3 separate regions of the Homo sapiens genome follow, and regions 1 and 2 are each linked to region 3. Evidence: promoter capture Hi-C in human tissues and cell types (Jung and others, 2019). All regions are on one chromosome and are shown on one strand. Each heading gives the region's core, a stretch centred on a gene start or on the middle of the fragment in contact. The rest is flanking DNA. Distances are from core to core; before and after follow the strand shown. Region 1 overlaps STAT3 (signal transducer and activator of transcription 3). Region 2 overlaps LOC101929767 (a long non-coding RNA gene). Region 3 holds the start of WNK4 (WNK lysine deficient protein kinase 4).

Evidence for each region. The method cuts DNA at HindIII sites, captures the fragments that hold promoters and counts their contacts. A contact is called where the count stands out against the background at its distance.
Region 1: a fragment that was not itself captured here is called in contact with the fragment with the promoter of WNK4 in region 3 in 1 of the 25 tissues and cell types used here (heart left ventricle).
Region 2: a contact is called between a fragment that was not itself captured here and the fragment with the promoter of WNK4 in region 3, in 1 of the 25 tissues and cell types used here (thymus).

What each region holds. Positions count from the first base shown.
Region 1 is chr17:42,315,074-42,319,417 of GRCh38, reverse strand. STAT3 (signal transducer and activator of transcription 3) reads left to right here. Exons shown (of 24, transcript NM_139276.3): 22 at 2,194-2,236; 23 at 2,517-2,629; 24 at 3,618-4,344. The coding sequence ends at 3,673. Among named protein-coding and RNA genes, the nearest start is that of STAT5A, 29 kb to the right of the region's middle. The HindIII fragment of the contact is 8,739 bases long and covers 1-4,344 here.
Region 2 is chr17:43,159,234-43,163,162 of GRCh38, reverse strand. All of the region lies in intron 1 of LOC101929767 (a long non-coding RNA gene), which reads left to right. It overlaps LOC124900391 (a long non-coding RNA gene), which reads left to right. Exons shown (of 2, transcript XR_007065760.1): 2 at 1-2,875. It also overlaps a transcript of BRCA1 not described here. Among named protein-coding and RNA genes, the nearest start is that of NBR1, 10 kb to the left of the region's middle. RefSeq lists an enhancer at 3,221-3,751. The HindIII fragment of the contact is 5,552 bases long and covers 1-3,929 here.
Region 3 is chr17:42,779,239-42,783,580 of GRCh38, reverse strand. It overlaps WNK4 (WNK lysine deficient protein kinase 4), which reads right to left and starts at 2,971. Exons shown (of 19, transcript NM_032387.5): 1 at 2,265-2,971; 2 at 651-823. The coding sequence starts at 2,882. VPS25 (vacuolar protein sorting 25 homolog) reads right to left here. Exons shown (of 6, transcript NM_032353.4): 6 at 3,982-4,342. RefSeq lists enhancers at 1-651, 1,941-2,898. The HindIII fragment of the contact is 5,514 bases long and covers 1-4,342 here.

The sequences.
Region 1 (4,344 bases), core at 1,365-3,864, 460 kb after region 3:
GACATGCACCACTATGCCTGGCTAATTTTTGGATTTTTAGTAGAGACCGGGTTTCACCCTGTTGGCCAGGCTGGTCTCGAACCCCTGACCTCAAGTGATCTTCCCGCCTGGGCCTCCCAAAGTGCTGGGATTATAGGTGTGAGCCACAGTGCCCAGCCTTGTTTTTGTTTTTGTTTTGTTTTGACAGTCTGTCACTCTGTCACCCAGGCTGGAGTGCAGTGGTGCGATCTCACCTCACTTCAGCCTCTGCCTCCCAGGTTCAAGTGATTCTCCTGTCTCAGCCTCCTGAGTAGCTGGGATTACAGGCGTGCCACCACGCCCAGCTATTTTTGTAATTTCATTAAAGACAGGGTTTCCCCATGTTGGTGAGGCTGGTCTTGAACTCCTGGCCTCAAGTGATCCACCTGCTTCAGCCTCCCAAAGTGCAGGGATTACAGGCATGAGCCACTGTGCCTGGCCTCAGCTATCTTGAATGCTGGAGAATTAAATCCTTTTCTGTCTAGGGTGTCAGCTCCCTAAGGGCTGGGCCAAAACAGTTGGATTTATAAGACACTAGAGTCTTGCCTCAGTAGCTCCTTTGAATTCTGCACTGAATTGATCAGTTTCTTGGCCCAAAGTAAACTCAGATGGCAGCCCAAGAGCCACTCTGCAGTGCCTTCTTTCACATGGTCATCATGCTCTCTGATCCCTCAGGTTCTGTCTAAGCCTCATGTTTTATGACCGTGCTGTTCTCAGCCCACCTCACCCTGCCCCATGCCTTCTCAATGGTTTGTTCACCTGAATTCCCCAGATTTCATGCCAGTATCCCCAAGGTTCCTTGACCTCTTGGTGTAAGCATTCAGCATCTAAAATTCATTTTATTCCCGTCAACGCATTTCTAACTGTAGAACAAGAATTATAAATGACAAAGCTCATAGAAAATTGGCACCTTGTCTTCCCCCTCCCTCTTATTTTATACATAAAAGAGAATATGGGCTGGGCATTGTGGCCAAGGCTGGGCATGATAGCTCATACTTGTAATCCAGCACTTTGGGAGGGTGAGGCAGATGGATCACCTGAGGTCAGGAGTTCAAGACCAGCCTGGCCAACATGGTGAAACCTCATCTCTACTAAAATTACAAAAAAAAAATTAGCTAGGCATGGTGGCAGATGCCTGTAATCCAGCTACTCAGGAGGCTGATGAAGGAGAATCACTTGAACCCTGGAGGCAGAGGTTGTAGAGAGCCAAGATGGCGCTACTGCACTCCAACCTGGGCGAAAGAGAGCAAGACTCCGTCTCAAAAAAAAAAAAGACAAAAATTAGCCAGGCATGGTGGTGCCACCTGTAGTCCCAGCTGCTTGGGAGCCTAAGGCAGGAGAATCGTTTTGACCTGGGAGTAGGAGGTTGCGGTAACCGAGATTGTGCCACTGCACTTGAGCCTGGGCAACAGAGTGAGACTCTGTCTCAAAACAATAAGAACAACAGCAACAAAAGAGAGAGACCATGCCTTGCTCCAGGTCTCTTAGCTATTGAAGATGTACCTGGACCCAGGTCTCCGGTCTTCTAGTTGAAGCAATTGTACTGCCTTACAAAGTCACATTCTCTTTGGTGCTTTTTGATTGACGTATTTATCCAACTAGAAAGTTACTCATGCCCTCATCCAAAAATGTGGTAGAGGCCAGATTAGTGCTGGTAGGAATAAGAGATATAACCTTTGGCTTTGGAACCACAAGCATTAGCAGTCTCCATGTTCTTTAAAGACTTGGTGATATTGGTATTTAGGCTGGACACCATGCAAAGACTACACAGGCTCGGTTCCTGCATGCAGAGAAGTTATCTAAGAGATATGACCAGGCCGGAATAGAATGCTCAGACCACGTGGAGGCTGTTAAACTTTTACATAATCTAGGGAAAGAAGGGACACAAGGTGGCATTAGTCTAGGGTCAGGTGGGAAAAGGTTATGCTGAAAAGTCTCTGCAGCTCAGGACAGCTTTGTGCAAAGAACTGAAGTTCACAGCTGCTAGTGCCTGGGAGATCAAATAGTATAAATGAGGGCAGACAACCCTGAGGGGCAGATGGAGCTTTCCAGACAATCTTGGCATGAGGATGAGTGAGTTTCAAATCAGTCCTGCCGAGGCAGATGGCTTCCTCCAGCTCTGCTTACTGAATGCGAAGTCACAGTCAGTAAGAAAACTGGTTTTCTTCTTCCCAGGCGCTGCCCCATACCTGAAGACCAAGTTTATCTGTGTGACACCGTAAGTGGCTTCCTTTCCCCGTTTTGCCTTCATTTCTAATATCCTCAGTTATCCCTGGGAATGGGACACTGGGTGAGAGTTAATCTGCCAAAGGTTGGAAGCCCCTGGGCTATGTTTAGTACTCAAAGTGACCTTGTGTGTTTAAAAAGCTTGAGCTTTTATTTTTCTGTTGGAGACCAGAGTTTGATGGCTTGTGTGTGTGTGTTTTGTTCTTTTTTTTTTTTCCATTGTGTCTTGTCAACCCCCCGTTTCCCCTCCTGCTGCCCCCCATTTCCTACAGAACGACCTGCAGCAATACCATTGACCTGCCGATGTCCCCCCGCACTTTAGATTCATTGATGCAGTTTGGAAATAATGGTGAAGGTGCTGAACCCTCAGCAGGAGGGCAGTTTGGTGAGTATTTGGTTGACAGACTTTGTCCCTATAAGGGAAGTTGGTCCCCTTTGTGTGATGCTCTCACATGTACACACCGAGAGCTGGTCACTCGGAATGGTAGGAGATTCTAGAGCTTTGCTTTCCAAAAGAGATGGTATGAATGCCACATGTGTGAGTATAAATCTTCTAGCAGCCACACTGGAAATAGACGAACTTAATTTTTACAATATATTTTATTTAACCCACTAAATCCAACATACTCTCAATTTAACATTTCAGAAAAAGTTGAGGCTGGGTGAGTGGCTCATGCCTGTAATCCCAGCACTTTGGGAGGCCGAGGTGGGTGGATCACTTGAGGTCAGGAGTTCGAGACCAGTCTGACCAAAATCTCTAAAATATAAAAATTAGCTGGGCATGGTGGCGCATACCTGTAATCCCAGCTACTCAAGAAGCTGAGGTGGGAGGATCGCTTGAGCCTGGGAGGTGGAGGTTGCAGTGAGCAGAGATCGTGCCACTGCACTCCAGCCTGGGCGACAGAGTGAGACTCCATCTCAAATAAACAAAACTAAACTAAAAAGAAAAAGTTGAGACCTTTTTTTATTCTTTTTTTTCATACTAAGCCTTTAAAATCCAGTGGGCTTTTGACAGCCACAGCACAGCTCAGTTTGGACAAACCAAATCTCAAATGCTTGGTGGCCACGTGTGTCTCGGGGCTCCTGAATTAAACAGTAGATCAAGGGCAGAAGATCTCAGGACAGCCTTAGAGCTTCTGTAAACATGGAGCTCTGGGAATCAGTTAAGGTGGGAATGAGAAAGGACCCTTCCCGAGGCAGGGTCCTCCAGGGAGGAGGGTAAATCTGGCTTTTCTGACCATCCCTGGGCCTTAAGGGGCAGGAGATTGGATAGCAGTGGTAGCCTGGGCCCTGTCCTCTGAAGGGCTGGGGGCGTGGCCTGCCAGTTGCAGAGGGTGGACAACTGAACTAGTTTTCCCTGTCTGTCCCTCCAGAGTCCCTCACCTTTGACATGGAGTTGACCTCGGAGTGCGCTACCTCCCCCATGTGAGGAGCTGAGAACGGAAGCTGCAGAAAGATACGACTGAGGCGCCTACCTGCATTCTGCCACCCCTCACACAGCCAAACCCCAGATCATCTGAAACTACTAACTTTGTGGTTCCAGATTTTTTTTAATCTCCTACTTCTGCTATCTTTGAGCAATCTGGGCACTTTTAAAAATAGAGAAATGAGTGAATGTGGGTGATCTGCTTTTATCTAAATGCAAATAAGGATGTGTTCTCTGAGACCCATGATCAGGGGATGTGGCGGGGGGTGGCTAGAGGGAGAAAAAGGAAATGTCTTGTGTTGTTTTGTTCCCCTGCCCTCCTTTCTCAGCAGCTTTTTGTTATTGTTGTTGTTGTTCTTAGACAAGTGCCTCCTGGTGCCTGCGGCATCCTTCTGCCTGTTTCTGTAAGCAAATGCCACAGGCCACCTATAGCTACATACTCCTGGCATTGCACTTTTTAACCTTGCTGACATCCAAATAGAAGATAGGACTATCTAAGCCCTAGGTTTCTTTTTAAATTAAGAAATAATAACAATTAAAGGGCAAAAAACACTGTATCAGCATAGCCTTTCTGTATTTAAGAAACTTAAGCAGCCGGGCATGGTGGCTCACGCCTGTAATCCCAGCACTTTGGGAGGCCGAGGCGGATCATAAGGTCAGGAGATCAAGACCAT
Region 2 (3,929 bases), core at 1,428-3,927, 380 kb before region 3:
TGTTAGCACAAGAAGCAGATAAACTAACCCTTAGGAAAACCTGAATATAAAGGCCCCCCATGCTGTGGTAACTTTAATGACTACCAAAGGACCTCATTGGTTACAAATGCTAGATTAACCAAGTACCAAAGCTTGCTATGTGAAAATCCCCACATAACCACTGAAGTTTGCAACACCCTAAACCCCACCACCTTGCTCCTGGTATCAGAGAGCCTAGTTGAACATACTGTGTAGAGGTGTTGGACTCAGTTTATTCTAGCAGGCCCAACCTCCGAGACTATCCTTAAACATCAGTAGACTGTGAGGGGTACGTGGACGGGAGTAGCTTCGCCAACCCCTGCAAAGTGACTCTGAAGAAGACGACAAGCTCTGCTCCAGTCACACCCAGAAGCTGACTGGTCCACGCACGGCCGAAGCATGAGAAAACTCATTGCGGAACTCATTTTCCTTAAAATTTGGACTTTTACAGTAAGGACTTCAACTGACCTTCCTCAGACTGAGGACTGTTCCAGTGTATACATCAAGTCACTGAGGTAGGACAAAAGGTTGCTACAGTCCTATTATTTTATGGTTATTATAAGTGTACTGGAACTCTAAAAATAACTTGTTTGTATAATGTTATTCTGTACAAGGTATGTAGCCCAGGAAGTGACCAACCTGATGTGTGTTATGACCCATCTGAGCCTCCCATGACCACGGTTTTTAAAATAAGATTAAGGACTGAGGACTGGTGGGGGCTCATAAATGATATGAGTAAAGTGTTAGCCAAAACAGAAGAAAAAGGGGTGCCCAAACAAGTCACCTTAAAATTTGATGCCTGTGCTGTCATTAATAGTAATAAGTTAGGAATAAAGTGTGGTTCTCTTAATTAGAAAAGAGGCTATATGGCAGAAAATAAGTACATCTGTCATAAATTAGGACTGTGTGGAAATAAATGTAAATACTGGTCTTGTGTCATTTAGGCCACTTGGATTTAAAAAAAATGAAAAGGATCCAGTCCACCTTCAGAAAGGAAAAAAATGGCCCTTCCTGTGCTAAGGGACAATGTAACCCCTTAGAGCTAGTAATAACCAATCCCCTTGATCCTCGCTGGAAAAAAGAGTAGCGTGTGACCTTAGGAATCAATGGGGCTGGACTGAATCCCCGAGTAAATATCTTGGTTCGAGGAGAAGTTTACAAATGCTCTCTTGAGCCAGTGTTTCAAACTTTCTATGATGAACTAAATGTGCCAATAACAGAATTTCCAGGAAAAACAAGAAATTTGTTTTTGCAATTAGCCGAGCATGTAGCCCAGTCTCTCACTGTCACTTCATGTTATGTATGTGGAGGAACTGTAATAGCAGATCAATGGCCATGGGAAGCCCGAGAATTAGTACCTACAGACCCAGTTCCTGATGAATTCCCAGCTCAAAAGAATCACCCTGATAATTTCTGGGTCCTAAAAGCCTCAATCATTAGACAATACTATATAGCAAGAGTGGAGAAGGACTTCACCCTTCCTGTAGGAAGACTACATGGTGGAGTTCAAACCACACAGAGAAAAATCCATTCAGTAAATTTCCAAAGTTGCAGACCGTTTAGGCCCACCCAGAATCCCACCGGGACTGGACAGCCCCCACTGGGCTATACTGGATATGTGGACATAGAGCCTACACTAAGCTGCCTGACAAGTAGTTGTGTTATTGGCACTATTAAACCATCTTTCTTCCTACTGTCCATAAAAACAGGAGAACTCCTGGGCTTCCCTGTCTATGCTTCCCGTGAAAAGCATAGCTATAAGAAATTGAAACAATGATAAATGGCCCCCTGAGAGAATCATACAGTATTATGGGCCTGCTACTTAGGCACAAGATGGCTCGTGGGGATACCGGATCCCCATTTATATGATCAACTGAATCATACGGTTACAAGCTGTCTTAAAAATAATCACTGCAACCGGCAGAGCCTTGACTATTCTGGCCCAGCAAGAAACTCAGATGAGAAATGCTATCTATCAAAATAGATTAGCTCTCGACTACTTGCTAGCAGCTGAAGGAGAGGTCTGTAGGAAATTTAACCTTACTAATTGCTGCCTACACATAGATAACCAAGGGCAAGTAGTTGAAGACATAGTTAGAGATATGACAAAAGTGGCACATGTGCCCGTGCAAGTGTGGCATGGATTTGATCCTGGGGCCATGTTTAGAAAATGGTTCCCAGCGCTAGGAGGATTTAAAACTCTTATAATAAGAGTTATAATAGTAATAGGAACCTACTTACTGCTCCCTCGTTTGCTACCTGTACTTCTTCAAATGATAAAAAGCTTCATCGCTACCTTAGTATACCAAAATGCATCAGCACAAGTGTACTATATAAATCACTATTGATCTGTCTAGCAAGAAGACATGGGTAGTAAACATGAAACAACTCCTGCTATTGAGTGAGAGTCTCAAAGTGGGGGAATAAGGGAGGAGACCACCCCTCATATTGTCTTATGCCCAATTTCTGCCTCCAAAGAAAGAAAAAGTAAAAACTAAAAGGCAGAAATGAAATCCACAAGCAGACAGCCCGGGCGCCACACCCTGGGACTGGTAGTTGAAAATCAATCCCGGACCTAATCGGTTATGTTATCTATAGATTACAGACATTGTATAGAAAAGCATTGTGAAAATCTCATTCCTGTTTTGTTCCAATCTAATTACTGGTGCGTGCAGCCCCCAGTCACGTACCCACGTACCTCCTGCTTGCTCAATCGATCACGACCCTCTCACGCACACCCCCTTAGACTTGTGAGTCCTTAAAAGGGACAGGAATTGCTCACTCGGGGCGGGGGCTCGGCTCTTGAGACAGGAGTCTTGCTGATGCCTCCGGCCTAATAAACCCCTTCCTTCTTTAACTCGGTGTCTGAGGAGTTTTGTCTGCAGCTCGTCCTGCTACAGGTGAAACCCCATCTCTACTAAAAAAATACAAAAAAATTAGCCAGGTGTGGTGGCGGGTGCCTGTAGTCCCAGCTGCTTGGGAGGCTGAGGCAGGAGAATGGTGTGAGCCTGGGAGGCAGAGCTTGCAGTGAGCCGAGATCATGCCACTGCACTCCAGCCTGGGCAACAGAGTAAGACTCCGTCTCAAAAAAAAAAAAAAAAATCATGGATGGTTGGTGTCATGGAGGGGATAGGTCTTTGGAAGAACCTTCCTCTGAAGCTGGCTCTGTACATTTAAATAAGAATACTGCAAATCATCAAAGCCTTTAGCAAGTCTGACTCTTGGAGTGAGCCTTTGTTTTTCTTCATTTATAAAAGGAAAAGGGGACTGTACTGTTCACATTTATTTATTTTTTTATTTTTTTAATTGATCATTCTTGGGTGTTTCTCCCAGAGGGGGATTTGGCAGGGTCATAGGACAATAGTGGAGGGAAGGTCAGCAGATAAACAAGTGAACAAAGGTCTCTGGTTTTCCTAGGCAGAGGACCCTGCGGCCTTCCGCAGTGTTTGTGTCCCTGGGTACTTGAGATTAGGGAGTGGTGATGACTCTTAACGAGCATGCTGCCTTCAAGTATCTGTGATGTGAGGAGCGCCTCTGCCCGGCCGCGACCCCGTCTGGGAGGTGAGGAGCATCTCTGCCCGGCCGCCCCGTCTGAGAAGTGAGGAGACCCTCTACCTGGCAACCGCCCCGTCTGAGAAGTGAGGAGCCCCTCCGCCTGGCAGCCACCCCGTCTGGGAAGTGAGGAGCGTCTCAGCCCGGCAGCCACCCCGTCCGGGAGGGAGGTGGGGGTCAGCCCCCGCCAGGCCAGCCGCCCCGTCCGGGAGGGAGGTGGGGGTCAGCCCCTGCCAGGCCAGCCGCCCCGTCCCGGAGGGAGGTGGGGGGGTCAGCCCCCTGCCCGGCCACATTTTGTTTTTGAATCGAGGTATAATTTACATACAGTGAAATGCAGAGGTTTTTTTATACAGGATCTC
Region 3 (4,342 bases), core at 1,722-4,221:
GAAGGGATGGAGACTTCCCAGGCAGACAGGACACCGTGCTCAAAGGCACAGAAAAAGCCAGTGACAAGGCAGGGTGGGAGGAGGTGCCAGGAATTTGGTGTGTCTGGAGCTTAGGCTGAAAGTGAGGCTGTATCCTAAGGACTTTGTGAACAGGTGAGCCTGTGTGGGCTTTATTCCAAGGCCATGAGAAACTTTGAAGGGGTTTTAAGGAGGGGAGTGACAGTTCAGATTTTCAACTGGGAAAGATTCTCCAGGCTGCAGGAAGATAGGATCGCTTAGAGGGTGGCAGAGTTTGGGAAGGCCCTTTAGGAGGCTGCTGCAGGGCTCCAGATCAGCGAGATGGCATTGAGGTGGTGGCATGGATGAAGCAGTGAAAGCCAGGTGGGGAGAGGTTAAGGAAAGACTTGGGGACAGACTGATGAGGGGGCAGAGTGGAGAAAGAGGAGTCTGGGGAGACACCCAAGTATTTTACTGGAGTGCTGGGTGGACATTGCCACTCACCGAGGCAGGGACAAAGGTTGGGTGAGAGGGAGATGGTGAACCTGGTTTTACACCTGGATATTAGAGAGTTTGAGGAGCCTGGGAGTTCAGGAAGCAGTGGGCACACATCCCAGCCTCCCTCTCCCCACCCACTCATGCGCAGAGCTCACGTCTTGAGCGTGCCCGAGGTCATGAGTTCGGTGACCAGCACGATGCAAACCTGGCCCCTCAGCACCGACTTCCACGAATCATAGAAGCGGACGATGTTGGGGTGCTGCAGCCCCTTGAGCATCTCCACCTCCTCTGAGAAGCGCTGCCGCTCAGCTCTAGACAGTTTCCGAGTCTGTGGGATGGGGGACGGGTGTCATGTCAGGCCCAGGACACCCACAGAAAGGAAGAGGGACACCTGGAGTGGGGTTGGGGGAAGAGGTGAGGGTTGGAGCCCACAGATGGGGTGGGGTTAATGGGATTACTTGCCCAGTGGGCTGCAGACCCTGAACTCTCCAACAGTCCCGCACGTAAGCTGATCCAAGGACACACCCAACCTGGGCCTGGGGCAGCCCCCTAGACCCCCTGCTGGACACAAGCACCTTTATGCAGCCCGGTCCCAGAGCCCTGAGCTCAATAGTGCCTTTGTGGCTGCCCAGGCCGGCCATGGGGCGGGAGGGGGCACCCGGGGGCTGGCAGTGAGCAGGCAGCAGGCGGGCAGCAGGATACTGCGGGCAGGGAATTGGGGCCGGCAAGGGGGTTGGCCCCAGAAACAGAACTGCTAGATCCAGACGGAAGGCGGGAGGGATATGGAGGGAGGTACTGAGAAGGAAAGAAAAGATCCAGGACTAGGCGCCAGGAGGCTGCCCACCCCCATAGTCGTCCCGCCCCGGCTCCTCTCCCTCCCCTCACCCCCCAATTTGGCTGCCTCTCCTGGCCTGGCCCAGAGCCTGGGGCGCGGCACTGGCAGGCGCAAGGGGCGAGCCCTGTGCCAGGGCTGGAGAGGGACCCTTCCCCTAGGCTCTGTCCCCTGATCTGAATCGGAAGCTTCAGGCCCCAAGTTGACTGGGTTCTCCTAACCCATATGTAGCATGGGAGCAATGGGAGGAAGGTCCCCCTAAAGCCCATGGGCTTAGTGCCTTTAGGTCTGGGAAGGGAGAGCACAGGTAGGCAGTGGGATGAGGAGCAGAACTGGACTCACTCGAGAGCTGGAGCTCCCTATGTCCCCCTCCTCGCAGCTGTGGAGAAGTCCAGAAGTCTGACTGCTCCAGAAGGGGTTAGGGGGCCCTATTCTGCCACAACTGCCCTAAATCTTCTGGAGTTGGAGATGACCCTTGCCCAGCTCCTGGCTTCCCGCATCCCAGCCTCCTGGTCTGCAAATAGGTGGGGGACGGGAGGAGTGAGGGGATCAAGAGGACCAGGGTCATAACTGAGGATCTCAGGACTTAGGGGAGAGGAAGGGATTGCGGGTACCCACCAGCAGGAAACTGACCTGAACTGGCTCCCCTGCCTAACTTCCCATCCTATTTTCCACCTCTCAGGGTTGAGTATGGAGACTTTAAAGTGAGAATGTTCATACCCATGGGGGAGTCACCAGACACCACCTGCCTCAATCTCTCCTTCTGCAGCCCAGAGTCAGCCAGATCATTCAGGGCAAAGACAGCAGAGGTGTCTATAGACATTTGACTGGAAAAATACATGCTTCCCTTGATGCTGTCTCCCCCACCCTCTGTCTGTCATCCTAAGACCTCCAGAGTCCCATCCCAAGGTGCCACCGAGGGGGCTCCCAGCCGCACCTGCAGCTCACACCAGGCCACCTCCACTGTGGTGTCGGTGTCTAGCCCTCGATACACCGTCTTGAAGGAGCCACGTCCAATCTCGATGTCAAACTTGAGGTATCGGCCATCGGGGGACGTTGCCACAGCCTGGGTCTCCATGTCCTCCTTTTCTTCCTGCTCCCGCCGCCGCTCTAGGGCCACAGCTTCAGGGACCCTTAGCGGCTCCCTGGACCCCGGGCCCACTGCAGAGTCCGGGAGCTCGGGACGCGCGGAGTCTTCCGCAGCCTTCACAGGGGCTCCCTCGGTCCACGTGCCCTCGGGGGGTTCTTTGGAGCTAGGCGGTGGGCTCCTCGCGGGGCCAGGACCAGCGGAGTCCGGAGGATCGGGGGGGTCCGGAGCGGGTGAGGCTGGCAGGGACCAAGAGCTCAGCAGCCCCAAGTCGACTGAGCTACGGCGGCTGAGACGAGAAGAGCGCGGCCGGGGCTCAGCCTTCCCGGAGAAGCGGCGCGCTCGGCGAGGAGGGGGCCCGAGGCGGGGCTGCCCCGCGGTGCCAAGAGGAGGCGGGGGCCGCAGGGCCAGGTCGGCCTCAGTCTGGGACATGAGGACGGTGGTCTCCGTGGCCGGGGATGCCAACATGAGGAAGAGCAGGGCGCCGAAGGGTAGAAAATCAGACGGCCGGAGAGGAGGCGGCCTGACAGACGGACTCGCTGGGTGCGCTGCGCTCCGGCTGAGCGGCTGCGGCCCCAGCCCCCAGCTCGGCCTGGCCCCGCCCCCGTCGCCGCCCCGCGGCCCGCCCTTGCCCCCCAGGGCCGCCCCTCCGAGCTGCTCCCGCGGTGCGGATCCCGCGAGCAGCCCCTCACCTTAGTCACCGCCCCGCCCAGCCGCGTCCCCTTCTTTCCCGAGCCCCCGGCCGCAGTCTCACTCTGAGGCCAGAACTGAGTGGGAGACCGCGGAGCATCCTCCCGCACTAAGAGTGAGCAAACCTGTTTGTGCGCGGAGGAGGGCAGGAGAGAACGACACCCGGACCCTAGTGGGGGATTACTTAGGGGGAGGCTACCACCCTCCTGCACACCCCAGATAAGGCAGCACCACCCCCTCCTAACTGTCCGGAGTAGCCCCAGGCCGAACGGAGAGGTCAGTGGAAAGGTCTGACGTTGTTGTCCCTCTGGTCTGCATAGGGAATGGGTGTGTACTCCCCAGGATAAGTCCCTCCCCCAAACCGAGAGCCCGGTCATCCATCCCCTCCAGGCCACCTTGGCCGCAGCCTAACCCTGGCCAGAGTGGCTGTTTTTGCTATATGGGCTCTCCTTCCTCCCCTTCTGTTTGCCAGTCTCCAATAAACCAAAGTCCACATCCGGCTTACCCCCCTCAGCTCCCCTTGGCCACAGTTACCCCACCCAGACCAGATGGGTGGAGGGAGGGGCTTCAGAGTAGTTCAGGACTTCCATGAGGGAGATGGTGAGGGAAGGGGGAGCCCTTAAGTGACTCCAATTCAGAGAGAAAGCAGTCTGTCCCCAAGCTGTGTTCCATCAGCACTCCTCCACACAGCCCACCCAGCAGATGTAAAACCACAGGCTCACTGGAGCCCACAGGGCCCTGGAGGACCTTTTCTTCTACAAAAGCCATAAGCTTTCTTTTCTCTCCCCTCTCCCAGGCTGGGATTTACTCAGGTGGCAACACTTCACAGCCCTCCCCATCCCCATTCCAGTACTGTAGTAATTTAAGAGGCAGGCAGTGGGAGTTGAGATTTTAATATCATAAATCGGTGTGGGGCCACACCTCTCACTGCCAGGCCCGTGGGCCTCCTATCTTCATATTGCCTGGAAGGCTGCCTGCAGCCAGGGCTTCCCCCATCCCCTAGGAAGGATCCAGCACCAGCCTGAGAAGGGAGGCAACAGCAGCTAAAGGGGTGGGAGGAGGAGGAGACAGAAGCATGTGCTGCAGGCGCATGTGTGTATGTACTTACATGTGTGAACACATATAAAGTGTCAGGTTTACAGACCCTGGCTCAAGGACAGTCTAGGATGGGAAAGGAGGTAGGGCGAGAAGAAGCACATATTTTCTCCCTGGTGCTTCAGCCTCACCCTATCCAAGGG